2 separate regions of the Homo sapiens genome follow, and region 1 is linked to region 2. Evidence: promoter capture Hi-C in 16 types of primary human blood cells and fetal thymus (Javierre and others, 2016). All regions are on one chromosome and are shown on one strand. Each heading gives the region's core, a stretch centred on a gene start or on the middle of the fragment in contact. The rest is flanking DNA. Distances are from core to core; before and after follow the strand shown.

What was found. Contacts are between HindIII fragments. The CHiCAGO score rates a contact against its expected background, and 5 or more counts as called.
Region 1: a contact is called between a fragment that was not itself captured here and the fragment with the promoter of DOCK8 in region 2, in 2 of 17 cell types (neutrophils and monocytes). The highest score is 12.5, in neutrophils.

The regions. Positions count from the first base shown.
Region 1 is chr9:247,564-255,084 of GRCh38, forward strand. All of the region lies in intron 1 of DOCK8 (dedicator of cytokinesis 8), which reads left to right. Among named protein-coding and RNA genes, the nearest start is that of DOCK8-AS1, 36 kb to the left of the region's middle. The HindIII fragment of the contact is 4,086 bases long and covers 1-3,293 here.
Region 2 is chr9:212,465-216,114 of GRCh38, forward strand. DOCK8 (dedicator of cytokinesis 8) reads left to right here and starts at 2,401. Exons shown (of 48, transcript NM_203447.4): 1 at 2,401-2,565. The coding sequence starts at 2,513. It overlaps DOCK8-AS1 (DOCK8 antisense RNA 1), which reads right to left and starts at 3,286. Exons shown (of 1, transcript NR_160804.1): 1 at 993-3,286. RefSeq lists silencers at 2,156-2,405, 2,416-2,465, 2,516-2,565, 2,736-2,875. The HindIII fragment of the contact is 3,855 bases long and covers 657-3,650 here.

The sequences.
Region 1 (7,521 bases), core at 1-2,500, 34 kb after region 2:
CGCTCTGTCGCCCAGGCTGAAGTGCAGTGACGTGATCTCGGCTCACTGCAAGCTCCGCCTCCCGGGTTCACGCCCTTCTCCGGCCTCAGCCTCCCGAGTAGCTGGGAATACAGGCACCCACCACCACGCCCGGCTAATTTTTTGTATTTTTTTTTAGTAGAGACGGGGTTTCATCGTGTTAGCCAGGATGGTCTCAATCTCCTGACCTCGTGATCCACCCTCCTCGGCCTCCCAAAGTGCTGGGATTATGGCAGAGAAATGTTTGTTTCAAAAGTGTGTTAGTCTCTAAGGAAATGAATACTTCCAGACTAAATTCTGTTTATAGTATTATCATTAATAAATAAACTAAAACATTACTTCTGTTTCATTGCCCCAATGTATATTGTATTAAAATGTTCTTTTCTGATCTTCTCTAAGTTAAAAAAAAAAAAAAGAAACAAAGTTGAGTAAACAAGCTGAGCAAACTTTGTGTTGAAACTTTAATATGTCCGAGGAAAAGAATCTTGCATTAAGTCCAATACAGAGAGTCTGATAATTTGGTGGAGCAGAGAGCCTCATCTGAGGTGGCTTTCCGTGAACAGCATCTCTGAGGTGTCACCTGCTACCACATTCACTGTCCACCCTGGGCTTTGCCCCTCAAGCACCAGGGCTCAGGTCTCTTGTTTTGCCTGTTTCTCCCTATAGTCTCCCTGGCCTGTGCCTTTTAGACAAAACAGATTAACATCACCTTTAAGCCGTCAATACTGAACATTCTGTCTTTATAAGGCCTGACTCATTACCAATTTTATTTGGTCAATTTTACCTTCCTTGCTTTCAAAGGAACACCATTTGCCTATGTCAAGTGTTCTCTTTCTTTTATTTTTCCCTTCCTTCTGTCTTTCCCCTCCTTCCTTCCTTCCTTCCTCCCTCCCTCCTCTCTCCTCTCTTTCTTCCTTCCTTGCCTCCTTCCATCCTTCCCTCCCTCTCTCTCTTTCTTTCTTTCTTTCTCTCTCTCTCTCTTTCTTTCTTTCTCTCTCTCTGTCTTTCTTTCTCTCTTTCTTTCTTTCCATCTTCTTTTCTTTCTATCTTTCTTACTTTTGATGTAGCTGTCACGACCTAATGAAAATACTGGCATGAGTGATGCCACCTTTAGATTCTCCACCTTCCTGTTCCTGTCCTATTCACCAACATGAATTGGTTTGTGGCTGTAAGTACTTGGTGGGTTATTGCTCATAGATTCAGTTGCATTTTTGCTGAGATAGTGCTGTTACCAAAAGCAGGGGTGCTGCTTGAAGAAGTAAACCTAACTCTGAAAAATAGAGACTCTCCAGAAACATCATAATCTTAAGGATGGACATTTGTGGCCTGTTATTGTTACTTCATTCTAGGTGACAGAGTGAAGTGAGTGAGGGCAAAAATGACTGCACACTTATGGAAAGAGGGCTGCCTCCACCACAGACAGGTAGTGGGAGGTCCCACTCTTCCAGGTTGAACCCAATATCCTATCTTCTCCTTCCGCTCTTGGTACCTGTTGTTGCTATTGTAAACACTTCCCTCACCTGGGACTGCATATAGATGAAAGATTGCTGGGGGGTTTCCCAGGATCTTGGGCCAGTGCCAACAAATGGCAAACTTTCAAGTCTAGAGATGGTCCTATGGCATGACTGGGGGACACCACTTCCTTCACCAGAACATTCACATCCTTCCCAAGGTGCCACGCCCAGTTCTTTTGTCCAACAATAAACTCTGCGAAGTGGAGTGAAGTCACCACCCAAGCCTTAGCCTACCTCTGACCACAGCCTGTGACTCCACAAAGATAAATGAAAAGAGGAAAGTCAGTGATGTTTTCTATACTGTCAGCAGCAATCTCACAGCCTCAATACATTTTCTTTCAAAAGTTTAATATGTAATAACTGGCATTTCTTCTTCATTCCTAGTTGGTTAGACTGCATCACATCTGCCATGCCAAACTATTAAGAGTAATACAATTCTTACTCTTAGTTTATTAAGAGTAAAAACTATTACTCTTAATAGTTTAGCATGCTATTACTCTTTTCTTATTTTTTAATTTTTTTAATTTTTTATTTTTTGAGACGGAGTCTCGCCCTGTTGCCCAGGCTGGAGTGGTGCAGTGGCACAATCTTGGCTCACTGCAACCTCTGCCTCCCAGGTTCAAGCGATTCTCCTGCCTCAGCCTGCCAAGTAACTGGGATTACAGGTGCCCACCACCATGCCTGGCTAATTTTTTTTTTTTTTTGTATTTTTAGTGGGCAAGGGGTTTCACCATGTTGGTCAGGTTGGTCTCGAACTCCTGACCTCAAGCGACGCCCCCGCCTCGGCATCCCAAAGTGCTGGGATTACAGGCGTGAACTGCTGCACCTGGCTGACGTGCTATTACTCTTACAGCATCTGGACAATCCCTAACAGTCTGAAAGCTCTATAATGTTGCAGGTAGTCCAAAGGCCCTATCCCTTATTCTAGAACACAGGCTTTATAGCACAGGCTTTGGCAAGTCTGTAACAGTCTGAACTCCTCCACTGTATTCCACATACTAGGGATCTTTTAAGTTGTCATTATGTCCTGGCACAAGCATTTATCATATTTCTGGGAGCATGTAGGGTTCAAGATGCGAGGGCAAGAGAGGGCTGAGTTGTTTGTTATTAAGCTGACAGGAAATGGCCAAGGCTCATGTGCTACTGCTTGCAGTTGGGCAAAAGAGGATAAATTAATTGCTTTGTAGAAATTCCTTTCTGCATTCTTTAGGGAAAATTTTTCCATGTGAGCTAAATGAGTCAAAGGGGGTGGTTTTGGGCTCAACAGCTTTGACATTGTCCCTTCAAGGAATGAAACAATTAAAGAAACTGATCTCCTCTGAGAAAAAGACCATTTACAATAACCTATCTACTCTACATAAAATATTCCCAGTAGACTCATCAAAACAAGACCCTCTGATACCACACCATACTGGGTTTTTCCTTATTGGGATTCCCCCATGTTTTTTCTTTAATGCTTCCCCATGTTTTAGAAACAGATTTGCTTACCCGGAACCTTCCACACTCAATTCCAAATTTATCATAGTACTATCATTTGGGAGTAAACAACATGTAAGGGGCCTACACGGGTGGAAAGCCCATTCAAGAAACTGAGGATGATCAAATAGTAGAGTTGATAGTATGTGTATAATCCCAGGGAGGAGTTTCATGACGGATTAGAAGGTCAACACTGCCTGATGCAGCCGAAAGATCACATTAAAACAGGACAGGAAGGAAGTCCTGGCTGTCCAGCAAAAGGTCTTTAGTGGCTATATCAAGAGAAGCTTTTACAGAAGGGTGAGGGTGGTAGCCTGCGAACATTGGATTAGGAGTGAGAGGGACTGAAGGAAGTAGAAACTCGAGCTCAGGGGAAGGGGAGAGAATGAGCTTGAGGAAGGCCCTCTGATGAAGGGAAGGCTCTTTTCTGATGCCAGTGAGTTGAGCAGACTTATAGGAAGCAAAGAGGAGTCTAGGGACAGACAGGGATTGTCCAGGTAATGTAGGAAACATTTGACAAGGACAGATCTCGAATAAAAACATGAATGCAATTTCTGTTTCAGATGTCTCCTTTGCCTGCCCCATCCCACATTCTAGAAAAATATTTGGTGCATTAACAGATTTTGGACTTCACAGGGCTTCACTTTTATTGTGCTTAATATTTGTTCCTTGGTGAAACACAAAGAGACAAACTACACAAAAAGAGAATCATACTTGATGAAAAAAATCAATGTTTAGAAGTTGCTCTTAAATCTTTTACCCATTGCTAACATGGGTATTTGGATGCCATTTGGAACGTATTCCAGGACTACTTATCCATGAAAGGATTAATGATATTGGAGCCAGGTTCAAAGTCTCAGCAACAAGCTAAAACCTGCTCTTTTTAGTAGTCAGGGGCAAAGCTTAGTATCCTTTCTTCTGAAAGCTTTCGCATGCTAAGCTTTCCATTGCCAAGCCCCCGGGAAGGAAAATACCAGAAGTTTCACTCCGATAGCAGCTTTTTCTGAGATGCGCCTGGTGATAACATTTTCCAGTAGGGCTATCTTCTGTCTCCTTCCTTCTCTGTGTGTACCAGTAAAGCCTTGTACAAGTCTCTTAACCTTTCTTGGCTTCAGTTTCCAAATTTGTAAAGTGAAGATAATAATACCTCCCTCATAGAGTTGTTGTGAGGACTACATGGGCTAACGATCAGACAGAAAGCACTCATTAAGTGTGACTAGCATTGTTAATTGCAGTAATAGTAGTTCTAGTAGCAGGCTTTTCCAGGTTATAAGGATTAAAGATACGCTCATGTTACCTAAGTTAATGGTGCATTATTTTAAGGGTACACCAAAAAGTAAGAAGAATGGGAAACTACTTAACCAGCACATGGGGTGCAGAAGCGAGAGCAATTGTGTTTTCTTTTTTTTTTTTTTTTTTTGAGATGGAGTCTTGCTCTGTTGCCCAGGATGGAGTGCAGTGGTGAGATCTCGGCTCACTGCAACCTCTGCCACCTGGGTTCAAGTGATTCTCCTGCCTCAGCCTCCTGAGTAGCTGGGGCTACAGGCATATGCCACCATGCCCGGCTAATTTTTGTACTTTTAACATAGACGGGGGTCTCACCATGTTGGTCAGGTTGGTCTCGAACTCCTGACCTCATGATTCACTGGCCTCGGCCTCCCAAAGTGCTGGGATTACAAGCGTGAGCCACCGTGCCCAGCCCCAAGGGAATTCTTACAGCCTGACAGGTTTGGAACTCTGAGTCTCTCTGTGTGTCTGTGTCTCTGTCACTCCACCATATGTTTAGCAGGGTTAATTAATTTGCCCAAGATCACACAATTAGTAGATGATTATGCAAGATTTGAACCAGTTGTTATTCATTGGAATATGATTACTGTGTAAGTTAGCATGAGAATATTGAAAATAAATGTCTTGTTAGATTCATTTATTTTTTAAAAAATTCCTATGTAGGTCGGGCACAGTGGCTCACCCCTGTAATCCCAGCACTTTGGGAGGCCGAGGCGGGCAGATCACCTGAGGTCAGGAGTTCAAGAGCAGCCTGGCCAACATGGTGAAACCCCATCTCTACTAAAAATACAAAAAATTAGCCGGGCCTGGTGATGCATGCCTGTAGCCCCAGCTACTTGGTAGGCTGAGGCAGGAGAATTGCTTGAACCCGGGAGGTCGCAGTGAGCCGAGATCACACCACTGCACTCCAGCCTGGGCAACAGAGCAAGACTCCATCTCAAAAAAAAAAAAAGTCCTATGTATACTTCTTCACATCAATTTAGGCAGGCTTTATTTGTTAACTTTTGTTGGTAGCCAACATGCATTTAAACTACTTATTATTGTCCTAATCTAAGAAAAACTGAGAAATGGATGAAGTTGGTCCTAGGGTATCCCAAAGCACAGAGTGTTTTATTCTGTCCTTGGGACAGAGGTTTGATTCAAAATGTTTTTTCGGAAACTAGCCTTGAACACCTAATTTTATTAATATTCTTTTTACACTCCATCCCTCCTGGAAAAGGACTGGACCCCAATTCCCACCATTGCTTTTTTGGGACCCATTATCTTCCTTAGCTTCCTATGCATCTACAGGGTAGTCTGGGCTTCACTTCCTCAGTGTCCCTGTATGAAATTAGGTGGATATAGATTAGTCTGATGTAGGAATATCACACTGTACTAAGGTTTAGTTTGTATGTTATTCTCTCAAGTAACTGATCTTTCAATCGAACTAAACACTTCCTATGTGCTTTAAGGTGGTGGGAATTACAAGCATAGCAAGTTATGATTGGTCACGGATTTCTTTCCTCTTTAAATGGTGACCTACTGCCCATTGTACCTACTCAAAGCAACTTTCTTTAGGAAAAAAGACCACAGTCTACTTTCCTAAGCATAAACTCAGTTCTCATTCCACCTCTACCACCTGCAAGATTTGTTAGGCTTAAGCAGTCCCTTAACTTCTTTGAGTGTTTGTTGCCTTGCCTACTTCATTGGAAGTAAGGCTCTGGAACAGGGAAGGTTTGCCTCCATAAGACTAAAAGTTATGCTAATATAAGAGACTAGCAAAATGGGAGACATATTCAGCTCTCTTCTTGTGGGGAATACCTTGCCCTTGACCAAAAGCCTTGTCCCAGAAAGAGCCGTGTGGGTGTTGGCTTTGTGCCCAACATGTGGCTCCTCTGCCATGATTGATGGCTTCATTTAAGAAACAGGTTTTAGGATTTTTTCCCCTAAAATCTTATTCCTGTTAATTATCATGGATCAACTTTACCTTAGCTCGTTTAATACACAGTCACCTGGTATAAAAGCATGTGAAAACCCCCAGGGATCGTAACCACATTTATGCATTGAGAAAAGAGAGTGAGGCCAAGATTTTGAGATGTGTTCAAATGCAAGAAGCTTTTAAAATGCAAAGTATTCTAAAACTGTTGAAAGTTGAAGCTAACTGTTGTTCCCTTGTTGAAGGTAAAAAGTAAAGCATTTTTAGGAAAGCACTTTTCCTTATGTGTCTAATATTTGGGAACTGCATAGGAGAACAGTTTAATAGGAACCCTGATATTGACAGTAAGATATATTCTTAATGTAGTAACCAGACCCAGGGCAGAATTTGCAAACCCATGGTAGGCATACAGGTGGCTGAAGAAGAATCGGGACAGCAAGATCTCACTGAGATGCAATTCCATTCCTCCATTTGATACAGATTAAGATTTCTGAAAAAGACCATCCTCCTAAACCCTCATGGACTCTGCAGATAATATGAGGCCAGAAAATGAATAATTCCCAACTCTTGCTATCTCGTTACTGGCCAGTGTGTCTGGCTTCGCTGAGTGTGTGCCTTCTGAAGCGTACCCTATAATTATTCAGCAGGTATAGTCCAGTTCGTCCTACTTACTTTAGCAAGATTACCTTTCTTTTATTTTTCCTGTGAAAATCCTTCTCTTCCTTCTTTCCTCCTTTGTCTTTCCTCTTTGTTAACTTTTTAAATCTAAAGTGCCTTGAAAAACTTGTTTACATAGTAGTAAGAAGGAAAATGTTGACTTGTGCTATCCTGGGAACCTTGACCTTCCTGCATTATGGATAAATCATTTCCCTGCAGGTGGAAGTGGAAAATTGCAGATAGAACCACATTGACTCACATTCTCCTTCTACTTCCATTTGAGTGAGCACCAAGTATGCATCACGACTTGAGATTATAAAGTTGGCTTAATGATGAGACAGGTTTCTCAGTCGGGTTTTCCATTGGCTCGAAGTTCACAAGGCAGTTGTTGCTTGTCTCAGAGTGTCCTTAGGTGGACTACATCTGAACCCTTGGCGTTATTATAATGCAGATTCTAGCTGTGCTCAAACCAATGAATCAGAATCTCAGGAGGGTGGCGCTCAGAAATCTGCATGGTTGATCAGTTCTTTAGCAGATTCTTATTTTTGTATGCTAAAGTTTGAGGGTCACCACTGGAGAGATTCCAGAACAGGGCCTGCAAGGGAATTGTTCAAAGTTTGCTCAAGTTAACTTTGTTGTTACAGCATTAGCTTG
Region 2 (3,650 bases), core at 1,151-3,650:
GAGGGCTGATGGAAAACGAAAGAGGCAGTGAGAATAAGGAAGAAAGGCACTTGGATGGCTATTTGCCAGCAATATGTGAATGTATCTAACAGCAGATCAAACTTGAAAACAGGCATTTGACTAAATTAATGGATAACACATTCATGGTGAATTGTTAAAAGAGTGTTAAGGAAATCTGGAGACAATTCTAACCATCAAGAAATTGACAGCACAGAGGATAATAATGCTGGCCTAACCTTCATGGTTAGGTACCAAATACTAAATCTATTGCAGTATGATCTGAGGCAAGATGGAAGGTTTTATGATTCCCACATTCACCCAAAAAGTTTCCTTGATTGCAAATGCTGAAAATCTGAGATGCTTTCATTACATTTTATTTATGTTTGTGTGAAACCAGTATATTTTTGTTCTATATGAAAATGTATGTCATAAACATTCAGAAATTCAGAGGAGTTCATCCGAAAGGCTGACATGGTACACCGTGGACCGAAGCCTCTGGGGCAAAATGTTTTCTATGTATCATTCGTTGAGTCTCAGTTTGAAGAAGTACTTACACATTTGTTCTCTTTGTATTTTGCTATCCAAATGTTTGCTCATAAATTCCAATGTAGTAAATAAGGACAGTTTTGAAAGTCAGAAACTCTAAATTTCAAAAAAGCTTTATTTTTCTTTGGGTTTGTTTTCGTATGTAGTCTATTGTAGTCTATGCAGTGAACTTTGTCTTATATGCTTAAAAGGGCACTGATATTTGGTGGGCATTGGGGGGCGGGGAGTTACCTAACCAGTACTGAAAAGTTACTAAACTACCTGACACAGCTGAAACCAGGAAGGAAGGCTGTATCAGGAAGAGACTGAATATAGTCCTTAGGTGGATTTTAGTATTAGGTGACAAATTAGGTTGTATTGGACTGGCACTGTCCAATAGGAATATAATGAGGCTCACAAATGTGAGCCACATGTGTAATTTTACATTTTTAAAAATGCAAACCACATTTTTAAAAGGGGAAAACAAACAGGTGAAATTAACTTTAATAATATATTTTTTATATCCAAAGTATCATTTAACATGCAATCAACATGAAAATCATTAACAAGACATTTTACACGATGTTTTCTGCGCTGTCTTTAAATTCCAGTGTACATTTTACACATCCAGCAGTGGGCAATTCAGACTAACCATAATGCCGAGTGGTCAATAGCCACATGTGGCTAGTGGCTATCATATTAAATAGTGCAGGTTTGAACCAAAAATACTTCGCTTTGGTTGTTTTTTTTTTTTTCTTTTAGACGGAGACTTGCTCTGTCGCCAGGCTGGAGTGCAGTGGCAGATCTCGGTTCACTGCAAGCTCCGCCTCCCGGGTTCAAGTGATTCCCCTGCCTCAGCCTCCCAAGTAGCTGGGACTAAGGCGTGCGCCACCACGCCCGGCTAATTTTTTGTATTTTAGTAGAGACGGGGTTTCACCACGTTGGCCAGGATGGTCTCGATCTCCTGACCTCGTGATGCGCCCGCCTCGGCCTCCCAAAGTGCTGGGATCACAGGCGTGAGCCACCGCGCCCGGCCTGCTTTGGTATTTTTTAAGAGCAAGTTGGTAAATGGAGGCATTATATGGAGAGTGCTCGAGTATATATAGCACAGGTTAGAGCAGCACGCCGGCACCTTGAAGCGAACACGGGCTCCTCCACTCCCGTCAACACTGGGACTTTTCTGTTTTTATCTTGAGTTTGAGGCCGGGCTTCTTAGCAGACCTCAGTCTGAAACTGAAATAAACCTGGACGCAGCGTACCCTTGAATCGCAAGAACGCCGCCTTCAGTGTTTCTCCGGAGAAAAGCATTCACGCCAGGTTGTGACGAAAACATTTTTTGAGAACTCATAATGTTTATTCCTTGGATGAATCCATTATATTTATTTAGTGTCTCAGGAAGGATGATGGGCATATTGCTTGCAAAAGTTGATTTGAATCCTGATAGATTCCACTAACTTTTTTGTCTTTTTTTTTGGCTGCCTTCTTCGAGAATGGTGTCAACCCTTAATAACACCTAGCCTTACGAATCCCTGGGGTGATTCCCGACCTCGCCAGCTTTGTGGGGCTCCCCCGACTTGCCTACATTCCCTGGCAGCCTCGCAGCTTCGGGCAGATGGAGCTTCCGGCCTGCGCGCAGTGGTCGCCTGTCGTCCGCCCGCGCTCCCTTCGGCCGGAGGTCGGCGGCCCCGGGCAGAGCGCGCCGTCTGCCCCAGTATCGGGAGGCCAGTTCCGCGCTGGGCCCACGCCCTCCTCGCCCGCCGCTGCCTGCGCGCCAGGCCGGGTGGCGGAGCCGGCCGTCGCTGCTCCGAGCTCGGACCCTCCCCCGGGGTGATTTCGGCTTAGAAGGTGGAAATGCGGAAGTTTCCAGCGCCGACCGACAGACGAGGTTTGCGCTTGGCTGGGCATGTTCCGCGGCTACTCTGCGGCGCGCCAGGCCCCCGCTTTCCGCACCCCGCGACCCTAGAAGCCACCGAACCGCCGGCGGGCCATGGCCACTCTGCCGAGCGCAGAGCGCCGCGCGTTCGCGCTCAAGATCAACAGGTAAGACGCCCCCCGCGGCGCGCAGGTTGCGGCCGGACAGCCCAGCGCTGGTGTGAAGCGGAGCTTCGCTGCAGGGGCCGAGGCCGGACGAGTCCATTCGCGTCCGCGGCGGGGCGCGCCTGAGACCTGGGGCGCCCGGTTCCCGAGGCTGCGGCGGTGGAGCCGCTGGACGCGCGGCGGCTCCTGCGCTGGGCCCGGCGAGGTCCTCCCCAAGAATCTCGGTGCTCCTGGATGTCCTCAGCCGCCGGGGATCCCTTCCCCGAACAACCTCGCCCGCTCCGCCCTCCAGGTTCTTACAGGTGGCCGGGTCCCAGAAGGGTGATAGGCGCCTGGGTAACCGTGTTGGGCGCGCCACGGAGTGTCTCATAAACGGCTCCTTCCTTTGAGGCAAGTCTGAGCGCGGGGGGAAGAAGTGAAGTGGCTGAAATTAGAGTTGCGTTTGAGGCAGGCTGCAAGCCTTCTGTCGTCCTGAGCAAGGCTCCGTCCTCGCCTGCTTCATTATTCCAGAAAGAGCTTGGCTCCTGGTGGCATCGCTATTTTTATACCCTGGTCCAAAGGAGCCATGAAGTGGAAAAAGTGATTTTTTAAAAAATCTACACTTAAATAAACCAAAAGAAATGGCCTGTGGCTGACATTTTGAGATTTACAGAACTCCAGCAAAAAGCTAAGGACTGGGGGATCCCAACTCACCATCCAATTCCTAATCAAAGTTGCACAAACTAAATATGTAAGCACATTTACTGCTCAAAGTTCTCAGTAAAGGTGCTTTAACTGCAGTTTTTCCTCCACTAAAAACTGCTGACAAGTAATTGGGACATTTTTGTCTTGCCCTGAGAAAGCTAGACTGTCTAGTTAAAAGATAATAGGAAACTCATTCTAAAGTGTCAACTTATTCTATTGCCCACAGGGCTGTCCGATTTGTTAATCTTCACTTAGCTGAGCCTGTGAAAGGTGGATTCCACCGTAGGTTCATCTTTGTGCTGTTAGTGTGTGAAGAGGTTTGAACAAGGAATTAAAAGCCTAGAAAAACAAGGCGATAAGGTCTTCTAGAGGGCATATCGAGCTTTATTGACGATTTTATTTCC